2 separate regions of the Homo sapiens genome follow, and region 1 is linked to region 2. Evidence: promoter capture Hi-C in 16 types of primary human blood cells and fetal thymus (Javierre and others, 2016). All regions are on one chromosome and are shown on one strand. The core of a region is centred on a gene start or on the middle of the fragment in contact, and the rest is flanking DNA. Distances in the headings are between cores, read along the strand shown.

Evidence for each region. The method cuts DNA at HindIII sites, captures the fragments that hold promoters and counts their contacts. A CHiCAGO score of 5 or more calls a contact.
Region 1: a fragment that was not itself captured here is called in contact with the fragment with the promoter of DMRTB1 in region 2 in 7 of 17 cell types (fetal thymus, endothelial precursors, M1 macrophages and 4 more); the score reaches 9.3 in fetal thymus.

Annotation. Positions count from the first base shown.
Region 1 is chr1:53,691,352-53,694,515 of GRCh38, reverse strand. All of the region lies in intron 2 of GLIS1 (GLIS family zinc finger 1), which reads left to right. Among named protein-coding and RNA genes, the nearest start is that of GLIS1, 46 kb to the left of the region's middle. RefSeq lists an enhancer at 1-542. The HindIII fragment of the contact is 2,259 bases long and covers 144-2,402 here.
Region 2 is chr1:53,458,034-53,461,233 of GRCh38, reverse strand. DMRTB1 (DMRT like family B with proline rich C-terminal 1) reads right to left here and starts at 1,835. Exons shown (of 4, transcript NM_033067.3): 1 at 1,204-1,835. The coding sequence starts at 1,780. The HindIII fragment of the contact is 2,763 bases long and covers 517-3,200 here.

The DNA of each region.
Region 1 (3,164 bases), core at 24-2,523, 230 kb before region 2:
CAGCTTGGTACCCAGAAGGTCAGGTCAGCAGGGCTTTCCTGGGCCAGCAGGGACACTGGGTGCAGCCCATTGAGAAGAGAAGGCAGAAAGGGTCCCTGGCAGGGCCAGCCGGCTCGCAGAAAGGGAGTGAGGAGGTATAAGCTTGGACTTGAGTCCACAGGGTGAGGTATGGGGAGGGGAAGAGAACAACCGCGTTCTGAGCACCTACGGTGTGCTGTGTGCTTTGCTGATGTCTTCTCTCCTTGTCACCCCTCCCCCAGCGCCCCTGCCGTTTCTCACCTAGAGGGCCCACCCCCTCCATTTGGCCAACTCCCATTGGTCTTTCAAACTCATTCAGGGCCATCCTAGACCTGCCCTGACCCCAGATTGGGCCAGAGCCCCTTCTTTGGGTCCCTGCAGTCCCTAGAGTGTCCCTCCATGCAGCACTGGGCACCTGTGTGGTGGCCGCCTGTTGCCTGTCTCCCCTACCAGGCAGTAGACTGCAGGGGCCGGGACTGTTTCCTCCTCTTCGTGAGCCCAGTGCCCACCGTCAGGCCTGGCCCAGGCAGGCGCTCAGGGAAAGCTGGTTCAGAGTGACGGTGATGACACAGCCTCCTCATGTCTGCGTCATGTTTCCTGTTTCCCAAAGCATCTTCTCATCAAGGTCACTTTGAGCGGCACAGCCATCTGGAGGGTTAGGTAAGGCAGCGATCGATGAAAAGGCACGCTTTCCAGGTGGGGGCACTGAGGCTCAGGAGGCCACCCAGTGCGGTGGTAACAGAGCCCGGCCTCGACATCCCGGGCTTCCTGCACCATCCCCTCCCCTCTTCAGTGCCGCCAGAGCGCCTGCTTTATGATGCCCACACCCTTGGCGACCCCGAGGCCGGGACTGCTTGTAATCAGATTGCCTTCCTCCCCACTGAGCTCATGCTGCTGAGGGAATGGAAATTTGGATCTGTGGGCGGGGGTGAGAGGCTGGGCTGTGGGGGCAGCTCTGGCTGGGGTGCTGTGGGACCAGGATGGGATGTGGTGGCTGGGGGAGCATGCCAGAGCCAGACTTAGCAGTTCTGGCCTCTGGCCACAGGGGCTGCTGAGAACCATCTCAAGTGGTTGGCCAGATGCCTGCCCCCGAGGGCTGGGTGTCCAGAAGGTTTGGGATGGTCAGCAGCAGGGAAGATGGATCTTCTGAGGTTAAGTTGGCCATATTGGTGGCCTCCAGAGACTGAATGCCCCCAGGGAGACCTGGGTTCAAGTCCTGCCACTGACTTGACATGGGGCCATGGCAAGTTACAGCCCTTCTCTGCGTCAGTTTCCTCATCTGTAAAGTGGGATAATAGTCTCAGAAGGGGCTGTAGGGAGGATTAAATTATGAAACAGTGCGTGTAACATATGGAGCCACGATGATTTCCTTGTCTGCAGAGTGGAATGTACTTTGCCCTGCTTCTCTGTCTGGGTTGATACGAGGTCTCGACGAAGCACCCTCACACTGTGAAGTGCTGTGCACCTGTGAGGGACATACCTTCCTTCAGAAAAGATGGACATGGATGTAGAGGGATAGAAAAGGGCTCTGGAGGTGCTTCCTGGGATGGGATGGGCCCCTGGGAGTCCATTGACAGAGAGGCCAGTCCAGCCAGTGAAGATTGAGTGGGTTTCTCAAAGACTTTGGGGTTTGCTTAGGGTGGCGGTGCCTACCATCCAGAGAACTGGGCCTGCAGGGACCTTGGGCAAGCGTGGGGTTCCAGCCCAGTGGGGAGAAAGCAGGCCCGAGCTAGGATGGCCTGGGTTTCCCCAACTTCCCTTCTTCACAGCCAACTTCTAGCCAAGCCCTCCAAAAACTCACCCCCACCTGGGTCAGGGTCCCCCACTTCCACTCAGGCTAGAGCCCACACCCTCAGTATCCCTCCCCCAGCTACACCCACAGTGGCTGAGAAATGGGGCTGCTGGAAGCTCCATTTCTCAGCACAACCCCAAACTCTAAATCAGGGACAATAGTGGCACCCACCAGGCAAGGCTGGGTGAAGGTTACTGTAACCCTGTAGGGTAACACATTAATGTGTGTAAAGCACACAGTAAGTGCTCAATAATTGCTAGCTATGTTTATTGTTATCGTTACGTCCTTCAGGTTATTACCACATTCTTTCCATGCACATCTCAAGTACATTGGATACCATTGCTATTTTATGGTTGTGTTGAGTCCTTTTACTCTTCAGGCAGTGGGGAGCCATGGAGGGATTTTGAGCAAGGATATGACATAGGGTTGAGCTCCAGGATGCTGAATCTGGCAGTGAGTTTAAGCCTCATTACGTGGTGTGCTTCGTTCAAAGGGGCTTTATTGTTCTATAGTAGTTTTAGAAATAGCTTTTCAAACCCTTCCCTCTTTAGGTGGGGAAAAAGAGAGGTTGGATGAGAAGGAAAAGAAAGCTTGTGTTAGGAAAAAGGGAGGCAGTTTGAGGGGTCAGGTATTTAATAGAGATAGGGAGAACTGCAGAGTGGGCTGCAGGCTGGGTGTGAAATTGCCAGACACTGTCTCCAGGTTAGATTATAGGTGTGGAACTCCCCGCTCCTCCACGACTCCTGTCCATATGGGCCTTGCTGCTGCCATGGTGGGACTAGAGTAATGGTAATATACATCTCTCTATGCTTTCAGAGACACAGTCACTGGGGCGGAGTTGGTTTAACTGTGGAACCTGGTAATGCTGGGTGGGTGTGACCCTGGGTTGGAGTGGGGGTAGGAGGGAGGTCAGGATTGGCCATGAAAGGAATATAGAGGCCATTTAGAGAAACTGCAAATTCAGTAAGGTGGAGCTGTGCAGAAATGAAGGACCCTTTATTAGCAAATCCGAAGCTCGGCCAGTGTATGATTTGATGCTGGCTGAGTGGCTGCAGGGAGTGGCTGGTGGAAAAGGTGTGGAAGCTCCAGGCGAGGCGGTTGTTGGGAGAGGGAGAGGGAATGGAGGAGGAGCAGTGGTGGAGGAGCTCATGGACGTGGGAGAGCATGGAGCAGCAGGGGGCTCAGCTCCTCCCAGTCCGTGTGAATCTGGGATCCTGGGCCCGGGGTCCTCATCATCTCCAGTGATTCTGCTCATGGAGTCCAGAGTGGGCCCAGGATTCTGAGGGCAACAGGCAAAAGGCCAGACTTTGAGGAACATGGATTTAGGTTTATGTGTGTCTCATGTGGTGGTGGG
Region 2 (3,200 bases), core at 586-3,085:
GCCCCACACACCGTCAGCCCGCACTCTGCCTCTCTGAGGCCTCAGTGCCGAGCTCCTCCTCCTCCTCCGGGTCACAGTGAACCCGGCCATGGCTCAAGCCCTGGACACTGATTTGTGTGACTCTTTGATCAACCCTGTCCCTCCCACAAGGACAAGGTCCTTGAGGGCAAGAAATGTGACCCGCGTCCTCCATCACGAATGCCTGGCTCATGGTTCGGCTCAGCCCTGCTTGTCTGTTGAGATGGAAAAAAGAAAGGTGGCTTCTCCTAGATCTGCAGTTTCAGGCCTGTGACCCTGTCAGATGGGACGTTCCCTGGGGACCTAGATTTTCCTGGAAAGTCAGGGGGGCGGGACGAGCCTGCGGGAGCCTCCGGACCAGTGCCCTGGCACACAGAGGGCAGGAGCTTGTCCAGCGTGACCCGGGCCCCCGCCTCGGCCTGAGCCCGTCCCACCACACCACCACGGGGGAGACACCAGGAAAACGCGTCCGCACCAAACCCCGGGGCTTCTAAAGCTTCAAATGTACATGTGACTTGAAACTACTTCAATACCAAAAGCTCCAAGGCACAGGGAACAATGTAATTTATGTACAAGGTGAAGGGAGAAAAGAAAGGCAACATCTTTACTGACCAACTGTTCTCGTGTGTGGAGTAAAGAAGCAGGCTCCCCTCACCTGCACGTGGGGAAACGGAGGGAAGAGGTGCGCAGGCGCACTGGGCCAGGGCGGAGCTGAGGGGAGGAGCCTCCCGACCGCGAACCGGGAGGGAAGAGTGCGCAGGCGTCCTTGCGCTAACGTGCCGGCAGGAAAATTCTGTTATTCTGGAGGAGGAGCCTCCAGCCCAAGGAAATGGCGGGAAGAGGTGCGCAAGAGCAGTAGGACTCGGCTCCTCGAAGCCTCCCCCGGAGGAGGAAGCACTGCTAAGTCGACTGGACGCCATTTTGTTCTTGCATGCCGGAATGGCACAAACTACAGCTAAATGTTAAAAGCCCTCTGAACCGCCCATTCCTTTCTGTTTCTCGTTTCCTTTTTGCGAAAAGTTACCCAATCCAAATCCCTGTTCGAAGAAGGGTTTCTCAAAGCGGAAGGTCCGTTACCCGTGGAAAAACTTCTCTCCACCCCGAACCCCTATGCCAGCTCCCCATCCGGGCTGGCCTGGGCTGCCAGCTCCGGGAGTCGACCGCGGGACCAAGGCCACGACTTACCAAAGTCGGTGAACAGTGGGCCGGGCACGGTCCGCATCGGCCTGCGCAGGTCTAGGGGGCCAGGGTAGCCACTGCCTGCGGCCTCCGCCCCAAAAGGGGGTCCCGCAAGGCTGGGCATCGCCACGGCGGCTCGCTCGCTCGGCTCCACGTGGCTGCGGCCGCCCAGAACCGGCTGGAGGGCTCTCGGGCCGGGGTTCCGGCCCCGCGGGGGCTGCTCGAAGAAGCAAGCGGCCGCGCGGCCCTCGGGTCCCGGGTCGGCGTCTCCGGAGGGAGTCCCCGGGGACAGCGGGCGGAGGCTCGCGGCCGGGACGGGGACGGGGGCGGGGGCGGCGGCCGCAGCCCCGGAGGCCTGCTTGGGCCCCTGCGCACACAGGGCCGCCTCCTGCTCCTCCTCGGCGGCCTGCGTCTTGAGCACCTTCTGCGCGGCCATGATCTTCTGGCGCTCGGAGATCAGGTAGCACTTCTCGCAGAGGCACTGCTTCCAGCGGCATTTGCCCGCGTGTCCCTTGACGGGCACCAGGAAGCCATGGTTCCTGCATCTCGAGCACTTGGGGGTGCGCACCATTTTGTCGGCCATTGGCAGGGTCAGCCTTCGTAACACAACCACCACCTCTGGGAGCTGCAGAGCAAGTGGCGCTGGGATGAGCCGCGCCCCACAAGTCCCTCGTTCTGGGGACATTGGATACACTTGTAACAAAGCGGCTCGCAGTGTGTCCCGGGAACTGCAGCAGGAACCTTGCATTTTCCCTCCTTTTGGGGGGTGCACAGTTTGGAGAGTTTCTGTGCTTTGGGTAATTAGATGCAATGGATTGGGTTGAATAAATTCTTCATGGGATGCTATTGCATGTATGTCATTTAGCTTATCTGAAGTCTTAGGCATGTAATTTTCCAAACTCTGTTCCCGCCACCGACGGAAGGTATTTGTAACTTTATGAAAGGCGGAGTGATATTCAACGGTCCACAAATTTAAAACTCGGGAGGAATGTAGCTCTCGGTGTAGAAAAATACTGTAAGAGGCAAACTGTATTTCTTCTCCCCAAAGCTGCTCCTTCTGTGGCAGTTCACTTCTCTGCCCTGCAGAGATGCTTCCAGGATATTCCAGAATATTCTCAAGAGTTCAGTGCAGTGTGATGGTTGCTCAAGGGTATGCCCTTACAGTAATTCCCGTTTCTTGAGAGTCTTGATGTAGGAATGCATTTCTGGATGTTGATGCCTTCCAAAGTGAGCATACTTAGAATATTTTAAAGTAAAATAGACAGAATATTGTAGCACTAAGCCTGGCATAGTGTCCTGTGCCTGTAGCCCTAGCTACTCGTGAGGATCACTTGAGCCCAGTAGTTGGAGACCAACCTGAGCAACATAGCGAGACTCCTCTTTCTAAAAAATTAAATAAAAAATTCTGCAAGACCCCTCTTTCTAAAAAATTAAATTAAAAAAAATTTCTAGCACTAGCTTCAGTGATTGCTTAACCTCATCATGAACTTCGTTATCCTTGTAAAACAACCCAAATCTTGGGACATCTGAAAAGTTAGCACAAACGTCATAGTTTACCCGAGGGCATTAATTGTTTTTTTTTGTTTTTTTTTTTTTTTTTGAGACAGAGTCTTGCTTTGTCACCCAGGCTGTAGTGCAGTGGCAGGATCTTGGCTCACTGCAACCTCCGCCTCCCAGGTTCAAGCGATTCTCCTGCCTCAGCCTCCTGAGTAGCTTGGATTACAGGCGCCCGCCACCATGCCCAGCTAATTTTTGTATTTTTAGTAGAGACGGGGTTTTCGCCATGTTGGCCAGGCTGGTCTTGAACTCCCGATCTCAGGTGATCCACCGGCCTCGGCCTCCCAATGTGCTGGGATTACGGGCGTGAGCCACCGCGTCCGGCCATTAATTCATTTTTTAAAAACAAATTTGTGACACCCTGAGGCATCTCTCTCTCTCTCTCTCTCTCTCTCTCTCTCTCTCTGTCTCTCTCTCCCGCCCCTCCCCCCCACCACCCCACTGCC